Regions from separate parts of the Homo sapiens genome. Here region 2 is linked to region 1. Evidence: promoter capture Hi-C in human tissues and cell types (Jung and others, 2019). All regions are on one chromosome and are shown on one strand. Each heading gives the region's core, a stretch centred on a gene start or on the middle of the fragment in contact. The rest is flanking DNA. Distances are from core to core; before and after follow the strand shown.

The links. Contacts are between HindIII fragments. The study calls those that stand out against the background at their distance.
Region 2: a fragment that was not itself captured here is called in contact with the fragment with the promoter of MCL1 in region 1 in 2 of the 25 tissues and cell types used here (dorsolateral prefrontal cortex and hippocampus).

The regions. Positions count from the first base shown.
Region 1 is chr1:150,573,976-150,581,158 of GRCh38, forward strand. MCL1 (MCL1 apoptosis regulator, BCL2 family member) reads right to left here and starts at 5,635. Exons shown (of 3, transcript NM_021960.5): 1 at 4,868-5,635; 2 at 4,269-4,516; 3 at 583-3,516. The coding sequence starts at 5,555. The coding sequence ends at 3,400. It overlaps LOC107985203 (a long non-coding RNA gene), which reads left to right and starts at 5,855. Exons shown (of 3, transcript NR_186818.1): 1 at 5,855-6,244. It overlaps ADAMTSL4-AS1 (ADAMTSL4 antisense RNA 1), which reads right to left and starts at 577. Exons shown (of 4, transcript NR_104133.1): 1 at 149-577. RefSeq lists enhancers at 3,893-5,092, 4,053-4,771, 4,772-5,489, 5,538-5,832 and silencers at 5,406-5,535, 5,606-5,945. The HindIII fragment of the contact is 14,201 bases long and covers 2,570-7,183 here.
Region 2 is chr1:150,886,986-150,894,358 of GRCh38, forward strand. CTXND2 (cortexin domain containing 2) reads left to right here and starts at 151. Exons shown (of 2, transcript NM_001384189.2): 1 at 151-328. It also overlaps a transcript of LOC107985204 not described here. RefSeq lists enhancers at 4,580-4,724, 5,459-5,603 and cis regulatory regions at 4,652, 5,531. The HindIII fragment of the contact is 3,962 bases long and covers 2,031-5,992 here.

The DNA of each region.
Region 1 (7,183 bases), core at 4,385-6,884:
GGGTGCGATGGCTCACGCCTGTAATCCTGGCACTCTGGGAGGCAGAGGTGGGCAGATCACCTGAGGTCGGGAGTTCAAGACCAGCCTGACCAACACGGAGAAACCCCATCTCTACTAAAAATACAAAATTATCTGGGTGTGGTGGCGCATGCCTGTATTCCCAGCTACTCAGGAGGCTGAGGCAGGAGAATCATTTGAACCTGGGAGGCGGAGGTTGCGGTGAGCGGAGATCGTGCCATTGCACTCCAGCCTGGACAACAAGAGCAAAACTCCATCTCAAAAAAAAAATAATAAATAAATAAATCAAGACAGAAATTTTGATTTTAAAGAGGTTTTTGATTTTACTTGGAGGTTTAAGAACTCCTCTAAGTACAGCAGTAATATATTTAATTAAAAACCCAACACCTCTAATTAGAATTGAAGAAAGGAACTGTCCTTTGCTCTAAGGCAAATCAACTTTGTGAGGCTTTTGCTTTGAATTCACCTGTACATATTTGCTCAGCTGACTTCTCTAAAAGGTTTGCCTAAGAGAGGGAAGGAAAAAGAGGCGTCGATGAGAAAAGACCCATATCACACCCTGTATTTGAATAAAAGATTTATTTTTTTTTCTCAGGAAAAACAGAAAGTTAGGGAAACACACTACATTTGACAACCAACATTAATTTGTAGTTGGTCCTAACCCTTCCTGGCACAGCTATCAAAAGTACAGCTGTTTAACCAGAACCAAGGTGTTCACCCCCCACAGAATGTACATGAAACACTAGAGGACTGCATGTTTTTCCCTGAGAGAAGCGTAAGACAAACAGAAGTCAAAAAGTAGTCACTGGGAGCGCCATCCTTCTAAGCAAATCCTCCCTTTCCCTTTTGGAGGATTTGCCCGAACTACGTAGCCAGTCAGCACTTAGACCACCTGCCTCCTCCTCCCCCTATAAACCCACCACTCCCCTCCTCCTTTCCCAAACCACTTGGGGTGTCCTAAGCCCTCACTGCCCCAAGCCCAAAATATCAACTAAGATCCTTGTCTGTATTTCCACAGTCATACCTAATGAATTGGGAAGTGGGGCCCCTAAAAACCAATTCACATCTATGCACTTGTTTCCACTGGATTTGGCAGACAGGCTTTTTTAGTTACCGTAACCAGATCTTAAGATTAATTAAAAACTACATAAAGTGCTTTTAGGTCCTTAGAGATACATGATATAAATAAGCGGCTTATGATCAAGAACGATAAATACATAGGTAAAAATAGCTCTAGCAAAGATGACCTTATGGCTCTGAGATGGGCAGGCAGGGCAGTTCTTCCCCATTACATTCTTAGTCATCTTATTCATACCTATTTTTAAATGGAGTCCACAGACTAAAGGTCATGTTCCGAGACTGAAGCTTTCAAATGACCCTAGTTCCAATATAGACACTTTCTTCAGTTTATCAGTAGCTTTTAAACTCTGAGGTTTAACACAGCTCACCTCTTTCTGTAAATTTAAGTGAGCATACTCCTATACAAAGGAAACTTTAGAGAAAGCCTCATAAAATGTTCTTTCCTCTGAAAATTCCTGAGGGGACTTTTGACACATTGCCCCCAAAGACAGGATAAAACAATAGTTGAAAAGATACCAGTCCAAGGAAAAGGGACTTCCTCCCACCTCTCAATGACTGTTAGTGTCACAGCACCCATGGTATTACCACCTGCTAACAGGATCAAGTTCGTGAAAGATGAAAGGTCTGTGGACTCTTGGTGGGGAGGGAGGGTCACTCAGGTTTCCAGCAGGGGTTTCACAGTGCCAAAATCTAAAAGGGCTAGAAAGAGTTCAGGGATGGCAGGGGAAAGCTGTAGGAATTGATATAAATATCTGTAGAGGGAGCAGAACAATCAGCAATTTCAAGGAAGGACAGGAAATAAAAGGTTAAGTCTGATAGAACAAACATCAAGACTGAAATCCAAAGATGCCAATGCAAAAACTTGCAACAAGGTTTGGGAATCATTAATAGAAACAAAACAGTAAGTATTTGCTTTATTGACATACTAGGCTTAGACCTGTGTGTGTAACAAGCAAGCCTAATAATAGCACCATGGTTAGACTAGCCTGCTTTTCCAAGCCATCATTTTATAATTTATTAAGCAAACAAGGGATCAAATGTCTCTCCATCCACCTGATGTGATCTTTTTATATGCACACAGCTAATGAGTTCCATTCAGCTGAAAATCTTTTAGTAAAAGCTTTAAAGATGAGCCCATGAATTCACTTTAAATTTCACCAGTTAAATTAGGTCAAATGGAAGGAACTCAAATGAGTATTGCCCAATCAGAGCCCATTATTTGTAAGTCATCAGTAACCTTAAAACTCCACTTAGACCTAATTATTGAAAACTTGCATATAATGAAGTGAAAGAATTTCCATTCATCAACCTCTCAATCCCAGGTTTTCAAAGAAAAACCTAAGGAATACTTACCAAAATCAGATAAGAAAATTTAAACCTGCATAGTTATCAGATTTGTTCCACTACAACCAGTCTGCATACAGTTACACATCAATTCGTTCTGTATACACTCTAGAACTGAACAGAACAAAGTTTAGCATAGAAAAGCTGTAAGAAACAGGTTCCTAATTACGGAAGTTGCAAAGTTCAAAAGGGTATGAAAAAAACTAATGTAAATTCGATACTTCCTTCGTTTCAAAGAAATAGACTTTCTGTAAAAATATATACAATTTTTACAAATACATTTACAAGCTGTCTTAAGAATTGAGGATATCCATATTCATAACTAATTACTGAGCCTTCCGTCAAGTATTATTGGTGATAAACTAGGCTAATAAAGTAAGAATCATGGAAACCAAGCCAAAGTATAACAGGTATAAAAGTCCTGAACACTTGGACTTTCTAAGAAGTATACTGGGAAAGCTAATTAGAGAGAGGAAAAGCTTCCCTTGTACAGTACTGAGGCTTACAGTCATAGTTCTATTACTTGTAACTTTTACACAGGTCACTGGCATTCTTAGTGCTTCTCTTAACACTACAGTAAATTAATGAATTCGGCGGGTAATCAATTCTATGACTTGCCTGGCTACTGGCCACTTTCCTGTTCTCAACAAGGAAATTAAGTCTTTCCACCCTACCATCTTCACTAAATCTAAAAGTCCTCCTCCATAGCTTCCCAAACAAAGTTTGTTTGTTGCTGAAACTGAACTTTGCTTCTTTCAGACAGTGACTCTTCAATCAATGGGGAGCACTCTTCCCATGTATTTATTCTTGTTAGCCATAATCCTCTTGCCACTTGCTTTTCTGGCTAGGTTGCTAGGGTGCAACTCTAGGAAGTTACAGCTTGGAGTCCAACTGCATAAACTGGTTTTGGTGGTGGTGGTGGTTGGTTAAAAGTCAACTATTGCACTTACAGTAAGGCTATCTTATTAGATATGCCAAACCAGCTCCTACTCCAGCAACACCTGCAAAAGCCAGCAGCACATTCCTGATGCCACCTTCTAGGTCCTCTACATGGAAGAACTCCACAAACCCATCCTAGAAAACAAAAAAGAAAAGCACATTTTCAAGTATGGGTTTCTGCTCTCTTACAACACTACTATCCAGAGAGAAGGTAAATTAAAATATCTAAGGTTTCCCCCTAAAGCAATAGTAAACCAATTATTATTCACCCCGGGGCAAAAAAAGAAAATAAGTTCTTCAGTTTCTTAAGCGGGGACCCATGATAATTAAACTTCATTTTACAGTACTATCTTGGTCTTATTAGGATTTATCCTAACAAAAGGACTTCCAGAGTTCCCATGAGGTAAAAGACGAAAACCCTTATTCTCAAATCTCCACCACCTAATATTTCAGTAACGCCTCAATTGCGCAGATCAGTTTTTCTCAACGTAGTTAAGTACATCCTGCATCAGATCTGGGTTTGTTTAAAACGCAGGCTCCACCCCATATCTTCTCCATTAAAACAGGCACCGCCTTAGGAATTATTTCAGCTATCCTCCCCTGGTGACTTATTTTTTCATGGTTTGAATCCACTGAAGAGTATTCAACTGAATTGGAACAAAAAATTGCCTAGAGAAAACCAAGATTTTTGATACAATTCAAGACCGCCATACCACTATCTCTAAGGATCCACTACTTAAATCAACATCAAATAAACAATGGTCCTTTAGTTAGAGCCTGCAAACAGCCGTGCGTCATAAAAACCTTTAGATATCCCCACCTCTCTAAAAAAAATCCTTCATTCTACTTCCACTCCAAGGCCCCTTTCATCCTTAAGGCAAACTTACCCAGCCTCTTTGTTTAACTAGCCAGTCCCGTTTTGTCCTTACGAGAACGTCTGTGATACTTTCTGCTAATGGTTCGATGCAGCTTTCTTGGTTTATGGTCTTCAAGTGTTTAGCCACAAAGGCACCAAAAGAAATGAGAGTCACAATCCTGCCCCAGTTTGTTACGCCGTCGCTGAAAACATGGATCATCACTCGAGACAACGATTTCACATCGTCTTCGTTTTTGATGTCCAGTTTCCGAAGCATGCCTGAGAAAGAAAAGCATGCAGGTCCTCACGGCCTCCTTTGTCTAAACCGGCGCAAGATTCGCCTGCCCACCCGCGGCGGGAAAATCGCTACTGGGATTTACAGAACTCAGGTTGACCCCACTTGAAATTGACATCCCACCCTTTCCGGTCTTTGAACAAGAGCTGCCATTTCCAAAAGAATCAAGATGGGCGGAAACAATGACTCATGGCCAGAATATTCTGGCTTCAGGAATAGGATGAGACACGTTTCAACACTGACTCGTTTCGGTTTCCAACCCACCCTTGGCGGGTGAGTCCGGGGAGAGATGGAAAAAAGGGAGTGAGGCCTTGGCGATTAATGAACCCCCTTACCTTGGAAGGCCGTCTCGTGGTTGCGCTGCACGCCATCCCCAACCCGTCGTAAGGTCTCCAGCGCCTTCCTGCTGGTGGCCCCAGACCTGCCCATTGGCTTTGTGTCCTTGGCGCCGGTGGCCTGCTCCCGAAGGTACCGAGAGATAATCTCCAGCGACTGCCGGTACAACTCGTCCTCCTCCTCCTCTGCTGGCGGCGGCGTCGAGGGTAGTGACCCGTCCGTACTGGTGTTATTACCAGATTCCCCGACCAACTCCAGCAGCGGCAGGACAGCCGGCCGCTTCCCGAGAGGCTCCGGCTCGTACCCGTCCAGCTCCTCTTCGGGCGACATGATGGCGTCAGCGGCCGGGGCTTCCATCTCCTCAAGCGGCGCCGCGCGGCGGGTGGGCGCGAAGAAAAGCAGCCTCGCGGGGGTCGCGGTGACGTCGGGGACCTCGGCGCCAATGGGCGGCGGCCGCGCGACCCTCCGGGAGTCTGGCGTGAGGGTGGACGGGGGGCTTGCGCCGGCGCTTCCGCCAATCACCGCGCCGGCCTCCCCTCCCCCTATCTCTCGCCGGGCCGAGGCCTCCTTCTCCGTAGCCAAAAGTCGCCCTCCCGGGCGGGTGGCGCCGCCGCTGCCGGCCCCCAAGCCGGCCCCCCCACAGTAGAGGTTGAGTCCGATTACCGCGTTTCTTTTGAGGCCAAACATTGCCAGTCGCCGCCGCCGCCTGGCTGAGAAAACTGGGGAAGACCCCGACTCCTTACTGGAAGGAAGCGGAAGTGAGAAGTGGCGAGCAGCTCCTTTATCACGGTTTTAGGGCGGCCAGTCCTACGGGGTGGCGCCAGCGAACTCTTTTTTTTTAAAAAAAGTATTCCCATAAAAGGGGAAAGGGGCGGCAGCTTCCGGAGGGTTGCGCACGGCACCTACCAGCTGCCCGGCCGGGCCGGGGCGGGGCCGGGGCCGGGGCCGGGGCCGGGGCCTGAGCCGGGGCCTGAGCGGGGCCTTCCGGTCTTCGGAGGCTCTGAGTGCCGGTTACGTAACGGCGGCTCCGAGCGCCTGGGGTCCTCCCAGAGCTCCTGGGCTCGAGCTCTTTCCATGAGCACCTCGGGCCTTCTCGTGGCTACCTCTGTGCTTCCCTGAGACCTGATTTGTGAGCCCTTTTTGCTGGTTTTCGCCAGAGGTTTTTTACCAAATCAAAATTTCAACCATTGACTAACACAGGGGTTGAAGGAAGAGGACGGGGAAGTTCAGTGATGGATGGGAACAACAGTCTTAGATGATAGGGATAATTAAGAGGGCATAGTTGGGGACTTGTGGTTATTTTGCACAGCTCTCTACTCTCAGTCCAATGTTTGGAAATGAGGATGCTCCACGTGCTACCCTAAAGAACCATTTATGTAAGTGGACTAAGCTAAAACTGCCACAGCTAAACTATTCCTGCCTCCCTGCTTGCTTCTCCCATCTCTGTTCCATAGTCTTTGGTGCTATTTACATATAGGCCTTAATCCATTAGAATCTCGTCTGAGAGTCTTGACACCATTTTTTGTTTGTTTTGAGACAGTCTAGCTCTGTTGCCCAGGCTGGAGTGCAGTGGGGCGATCTCGGCTCACTACAAGCTCCACTTCCCACGTTCAGACGATTCGGTACCTCAGCCTCCCGAGTAGCTGGGATTACAGGCGTGCGCCACCACATCTGGCTAGTTTTTGTATTTTTGGTAGAGATGGGGTTTTCACGATGTTGGCCAGGCTGGTCTCGAACTCATGGCCTCAAGTGACCTGCCTGTCTCGGCCTCCCAAAGTGCTGAGATTACAGCTGTGAGCCACCTCGCCCAGCTGATTATTGTATTTTTAGTAGAGATGTGTTTCATGCGCGTCTGTGTGAAGACACCACCAAACAGGCTTTGTGTGAGCAACATGGCTGTTTATTTCACCTGGGTGCAGGCGGGCTGAGTCCGAAAAGAGAGTCAGCAAAGGGTGATGGATTATCATTAGTTCTTACAGGTTTTGGGATAGGTGGTGAAGTTGAGAGCAATGTTTTGTGGGCAGGGGTGGATCTCACAAAGTACATTCTCAAGGGTGGGGAGAATTACAAAGAACCTTCTTAAGGGTGGGGGAGATTACAAAGTACATTGATCAGTTCGGGTGGGGCAGAAACAAATCACAATGGTGGAATGTCATCAGTTAAGGCTATTTTTACTTCTTTTGTGGATCTTCAGTTACTTCAGGCCATCTGGATGTATACGTGCAAGTCACAGGGGATGCGATGGCTTGGCTTGGGCTCAGAGGCCTGACAATGTGGTTTCACCATGTTGGCCAGGCTGGTCTCAAACTCCTGGC
Region 2 (7,373 bases), core at 2,762-5,261, 310 kb after region 1:
GAAAGAAATTTTTACCTGAGCTTTTAATGGTGGCTGTCCTGGCCCTGGCAGAGTTGTGGAAATATTCCTCCACTGATCTAGGCTCCAATTTAATCTAGTGGGATCATTTTCTCAGTATGGGAGTGTCTGAAACTTGATCCTGTTTCAATTGAACTATTCATGAAGCTTCTGAGTTCAGCGTGGGAGTGGGGAAGGGAGAGAGCTACCAACCACTCTCCTTTTGTGGGAAGAGGTTGATAAAAACAGAGGCTGCCAAGAGATGTACTTGAGTAGGAGGAGACTGCCCTGGCAACAAGTGAATGTAGCCTTGGATATCCGCTCTCAGAAGGTAGGTAACTACCCACATTGCCTTCCTGGTGGAGTTTTCACTGGGAGAAATTCCAAGAATTCTTCTGAGTTTAATAGCACCTTGCTATGAACTTGGGAAATCGTGGGGAAATGACTGAAGGAAGTAAAGAGCTTTATTATTATTATTATTATTATTATTTTTAGAGGCAGGATCTTGCTATGTTGCCCAGACTGAACTCAAACTCCTGGTCTCAAGCAACCCGTCTGTCTCAGCCCAAGACCTTTTTCGTTAGAGCTTTTTACGAAAAGTTAAACTTTCATCTGAGAAGGGATGTCTTGAGCATAGTCTCTTTTTGAGGAAAGTTGGGGGGACCTCTGATTAGTCCTATTAGCCAGAGAGTGTCTTTGATTTTAAGGATTATAGTAAAAAAAAGCTGCATTATTGTGTTTCTTCACCATCATCTCTCTCTTTGCACTAAACTTATGGCCAGGAGAGAAAAACTGGGTCTTTTTAGTATTTTGGTCTTCTTCAAGAATGGCAGGTCATTGCAGGTGGGAAGAATGAAGTGATCTGGAAAAGGAACACAGAGAAAGGAAAAGGTAATGGATCTTTCTGGAACTGAAAGTGGAATTGATGTTGCCAAGGATTTGTAAATGCCATTATTCTGATTCTTACTTTAGTAGGTCCAAATTTAACATAAACCAATAGCTTCACACCACACCTCCTTTCTCCTACTATAATCCCAAGAAGTGCTGCTACTCATCTCAAACAAAACAAGAACCTTAAAAGCCACTTAAAAAAAATTCTAAGACAGGTATTCCCTTTGGAAAACAGATTTTAGCTCTACCATTTTTGAAAGTGTATTTCTCAAGAAAAGCTATTTTGCATAAGAATTAAATTTGTTGTGACTTTTCCCCCCATTTTGAAAACATTTTACCTAATTTATTTTTTTTTTTTTTGAGACAGTCTCACTCTGCCGCCTAGGCTGGAGTGCAGTGGCGCGATCTTGGCTCAATACAACCTCTGCCTCCCAGGTTCAAGCAATTCTCCTGCCTCAGCCTCCCGAGTAGCTGGGACTACAGGCGTGCACCACCATGCCTGGCTAATTTTTTGTACTTTTTAGTAGAGACAGGGTTTCACCATGTTGGCCAGGCTGGTCTCGAACTCCTGACCGAAGGTGATCCCCCGCGACCTCGGCCTCCCAAAGTGTTGGGATTACAGGGGTGAGCCACTGCACCTGGCCCTAATTTTGTATTTTAAATCTTTTATTCTTTCCTTAAAGAGAGACCCCCATGTTGTATAAATTTTAGGCCATACAAAATCTGGATCACTGCATATGAAAATGAGTAAAAAATATACATGGCATACTTAGAAACAAAACAGCATTTTCCTTTCTAATAAGAATGTATTTTATTATTTATTTATTTATTTATTTAGACAGGGGCTTGCTTTGTCACCCAGGCTGGAGTGCAGTGGTGCGATCATGGCTTACTGCATCCTTGACCTCCTGGGCTCAATCGATCCTCTCACATCAGCCTCCTGAGTAGCTGGGAGGGACTATAGGTGCGTGCCACCACGCCAGGCTAATTTGATTTTGTTTTTGTTTTTTTGTAGAGATGGGGTCTTGCTATGTTGCCCAGACTGGTCTCGAATTCCTGGGCTCAAGCAATCCACCCGCCTCAGCCTCTCAAAGGGCTGGGATTATAGGAATGAATCACCGTGCCTAGCCGATCTCACTCTACTTCTGAATTCCAGTCCCACATTTTAGCCTCCTGAGCATATTGTATCAGTGCATTTAAATTCAGCCTACCTCAGACTGATTTCATCCTAGTACCTTAAAATATCTGCCACTCCTCTGGGTGCAGTGGCTCACGCCTGTAATCCCAGCACTCTGGGAAGCCGAAGCGGGCGGATCACGAGGTCAGGAGATCGAGACCATCCTGGCTAACAGGATGAGACCCCGTCTCTACAAAAACTTAGCCGGGCGTGGCAGCGGGCACCTGTAGTCCCAGCTACTCGGGAGGCTGAGGCAGGAGAATGGCGTGAACCCGGGAGACAGAGCTTGCAGTGAGCCGAGATCGCACCACTGCACTCCAGCCTGGGCGACACAGCAAGACTCTGTCTCAAAAAAAAAAAAAAAAGCAACTCCTAAAATAAATAATTCTATGAATGGCATCATTTTTCTTTCAGCTTTCCAAATTTAAGCCCAGGAGTTTTCTTTATCACTTCCTTCTTCTTCCCACTACATGTCCACTTAATTTCCAGGTCGTCACAAATTCTCTTTCACAATCTCACATCCATTCTTTCCTTTCTGTTACTCACTGTGTTATCCTAGCCCTTGTTTCCCCTTGTTGAGACTGCTAAAACTCCTCTTGTTGTTTTCACCCTATAGTGTGTGTTAGCTCCAATACTTTTTACGCACTCTTGCCAGTTATCTTCCTGAAGTATGGCTTTGATCATTTACCTGCCTGAATTCAACAAGTATGAACTGTTGTATGCACTATGTGCCAGACACCGATAGAGATTCATATTAATTCATTCATGTAGACGTATTAAATACATAAAATATGCCAGCCCTCCCCAGGCACTGAATCCATGCTATGAATGGGACAGACACCTAGAGCTTACATTCTAGTTAGAATCAATGGGATACACAGTAAGATATGGCCCCTGCTCCCAAAATGTTTATCTGCTCAAAACCTTCCATTGCTTCCCGATACCTGAAAGAACAAAATTCAAAGTCCTTGCCCTGACTTTCAAGGTTCAGTATGGTCCTGTCTTAAGCAACAGAAGTATAGTATCTAGATGAATAATCTTGAGTTTGCATGCATCTTGTATTCTGTATTGGGCACCACATTTTAAAAGGAATATAGACACACTAGAAAATCTTCAGTAGAAAAAGGGTAGAGTGGTAGACCACATCCTCTGAGAAACCAATCAAACGTACTTAATAGCTATTTTTAAATTACTGAAACTCTTGTGTATGGAAAAGATATGTGTTGCCTTAAACAGTCCTAAGTAAAAAGTGAAGCTGTACTAAGAAGACAGATTTGGCTCAAGGTAAAAAATTACTGCCTTCCAGAACCTTCTGAAATAGATAGACAGCCAGGAGACAGTCAGTGCCCAGCCCCTGTCACACAAGGAGCTCAAGCAGGGGCTTTACAGGAATGATTAGAAGGTGGTACAAGATGACCTTTAAAGTTTCCTTCCAATGTGAGATTTTATTTATTTATTTATTTATTTATTGAGATGGAATTTTGCTCTTGTTGCACAGGCTGGAGTGCAACGGTACGTTCTTGTCTCACTGCAACCTCTGCCTCCCGGGTTCAAGCGATTATCCTGCCTCAGCCTCCCAAGTGGCTGACATTACAGGCATGTGCCACCACGCCTGGCTAATTTTGTATTTTTAGTAGAGACGGGGTTTCTCCATGTTGGTTAGACTGGTCTTGAACTCCCAACCTCAGGTGATCCACCCGCCTCGGCACCCCAAAGTGCTGGGATTACAGACGAGAGCCACCGCGCCTGGCCCAATGTGAAATTTTATACCCTTCACTTTCATGCATTGTGAGTTCTGCAATATTAAATTAAGCATCATTTTCCAGAAAGCTTCAATGCTTCCTGTCTCCATCACTATTCCTTTATTTGGAGTGCTCTTTTCTTGTTCCAAATAGAGCTCAGCCATCACCTCTACAAAGACTTCTATAACTAATACCACTCCCAGCTGAGTTTATTAATCGATGAAGGTTGTACTGTTCATACCCTACACCCAAGAGAAGCAGCATGTTCCTTCTGACATTGGAGTTTCCACATTGACAAACATTTCCTACAGGAAATGGACGTTTGCCCTGTAGAAACTCATATTGATAGAAGAATATCAGGTTAATTCTTGCCTCATGTACGCTACACATTCCTGCCTATCTGATATTTCTTTTCTTTCTTTTTTTTTTTCTTTTTTTGTGAGACGGAGTCTCGCTCTGTCGCCCAGGCTGGAGTGCAGTGGCAGATCTCAGCTCACTACAACCTCCGCCTCTTGGGTTCACACCATTCTCCTGCCTCAGCCTCCCGAGTAGCTAGGACTACAGGCACCCGCCACCATGCCTGGCTAATTTTTCATATTTTTAGTAGAGACAGGGTTTCACTGTGTTAGCCAGGATGGTCTCCATCTCCTGACCTCGTGATCTGCCTGCCTCGGCCTCCCAAAGTGCTGGGATTACAGGCGTGAGCCACTGCACCCGGCCTTATCTGATATTTCTAACACAAACATCTAATGATGTAATTTTCATGTTTACAAGCTTTCCAATGGCTCCCCACTGATTACAAAGCTGAGTCCTGAGTGTTTAATCTGCAACACAAGGTCCCTTGTGAGCTGCCTTTGCTACCAATCCTATCTATTCAGTAAAATATATCTCAAAGTCTTACTGAACAATTGCTGTTTCTCAAACATACTATATTGTCCTCCCTTAAACCTTCATATCTTTACCTGGAATATCTTCTTTCCTTCTCCCCTTTCCCACTTTTAGCTGCCAGATAAACTCATTCTTAGCCCTCAATTCAATTCATGTGTTGGCCTCTTCAGTAAAATCTCCCTTGATTCTTCCCTTTGGGCTTCTTTCCCACTTTACCCAGCAAATTGCTTTGGAATTATTTGCTTTCAGGAAGTACAGATTTTTTTATTTTTCTCTTTAACTTTATAAGATTCAGACAGTTTACTTAGTATAAAATTATACTAGAAATTTGTGATAAGGAGAATAAATGAAAGGAAATCAAAGAAAGATGGAAGTCTCTTGAAATGCACTAATTGAGAGAAGGTGGAAAATTAATAAAATATTCAGGCTGAATAAGTCTAGTGAGATCTGCAAGTGCCAGGGTAAAACAAGATGTCCTTTTTGAGGAATGTAATGATGAATAATGAGAAAATATGTGCCTGAAGTCATAAAGATATGTCATATTTTCTTCTAAAGGTTTTCAAGTTTTCCTTTTACATATAACTAAATGCAATTTTTAAAATAAATATCCTATTTTCCAGTATCTTATTGAATAGTTCATGCTTTTCCTGTGACCAACAATACCCACTGTGTTATAATTCAAGTTTCTGTAAATGTGTGATTTGCCTCTGGGCTCTCTAGGGGTATCTATGCCCACATACCTACCCCGTTGTCATAAACCCTATAGCTTTATAATAAACCTTGATTGCTGATAAGGAAAATCTCTCTACCCTATTCTTTTTCTTCAGAATGTCTTATTCTTCTTCTTCTTTTTTTTTTTTTTTTTTTTATTGAGACAGGGCCTCGCTTTATCATCCAGCCTGGATTGCAGTGGTATGAAATGAACTCGGCTCACTGCAGCCTGAACCTCCCTGGCTTAAGAGATCCTCCCACCGCAGCCTCCCAAGTAGCTGGGACTACAGGTGCCCACCACCAGGCCCAGCTAATTTTTGTAGTTTTTGTAGAGATGGGGTTTTACCATGTTGCTCAGGCTGGTCTTGAACTCCTGACCTCAGGAGATCTGTCAGCCTCAACCTCCCAAAGTGCTAGGACTACGGGCATGAGCCACCATGCCTGGCTTCTATCTTCTCTATCCTTGAGCCTTTGAGTTCCTTCATACGTTTAAGAAAATTGATTTGTCAGTTTTCTCAAAAAATCCTGATGGGATTTTGGTGGAGTTGCATTGTATCCATAGATCAATCTGGGAAGAACTAACTACTATGCTGAATCCACAAACATAGTATATCCCTTCATTTACTTAAGTGTTCTTTAACGACTATCAGTAAAGTTTGGTAATTGTTTCCAAACTGGTCCTAGTCAACTTTTGTTAAACTTATTTTTAAATATCTTACGTATTTTTAATGCCATTGTAAATGATGCTTTTTTAAAAATTACATTTTCTTGTGTGTTGCTGGTATTTAGAAATATAATTGACTTATGTATCTTATCCAGCCACCTTGCTAAGCTCTAATTATCTCACATTTTTCTTTAGACTCATCTGCGGGCAATGACGTCTGTGAATAGTAAACTTTTGTTTTCTTCTTTTTCAATCCATTTTTTTTCATCTTATCTTACTGCACTGGCTAGGACTTCCAGAATTATGTTACATAAAAGTTAATATAGTGAACATTTTTGTCTGGTTCCTGATTTTAAAAGGAAAATCTTTCAACTGTTGCCCATTAAGTAGTAGGTTTGCTATAGTTTTTTTTGTTGTTGTTTGGACAGGCTGTCACTCTGTCACCCAGGCTGGAAGACAGTGATGCTATCATGGTTCACTATGGCCTTGATCTCCGGGCTTCAAGTGATCATCCCACTTCAGCCTCCTGAGTAGCTGGAAGTACAGACATGCACCATCTTGCCTGGCTAATTTTTAAATTTTTTTAGAGAGACGGGTCTCACTATGTTGCCCCGGCTGGTCTCAAACTCCTAGCCTCAAGCAATCCTGCTGCCTCAGCCTCCCAAAATGCTGGGATTACAGGTATGAGCCACCATACCCAGCCTATACATTTTTTATGGATACCCCCACTTATGCCTAGTGTTCCATTATTGGAACCCTAAGCATGTGGGGGTTATTTATGTCCTACTGCTCAAGGTCATCACCAAGGTCTGATTGCAAAAATTCAAAAAATTGCACCCTCAGGCATAAATGGGTTAAAGGAGCTCCTTTCTATCCCTATTTTGCTAAGAATATTAACATAGGTGTTTTATATTAGTATCTTTTTTTTCTTTTTTTTTAACCAGAGATGGGGGCGTCTCACTATGTTGCTCAGGCTGGTCTCGAACTCCTGGACTCAGGCAATCCTCCTGTCTTGGCTAGTATTAAGTTTTATCAAATGCTTTTTCTGTAATCATTGAGGTAATTTTTTCATTTAATCTATATATTAAATGTCACTTACAGGTTTTCTCATGTAAACTACCCTTGCATTTCTGGGAAAAACTCAGCTTGGTATTTGTGTCAATCAGGATTTATTTGCAGGGAATAGAAACTTTCTAGTTATTTAAAACAGAAGTAGGATTCTTAGTTACACATGACCGAAAAGCCCAACTCAAATGGGATTAAAGACTACAATGGAAAAATATGAATTTGCTAATTATAGGGC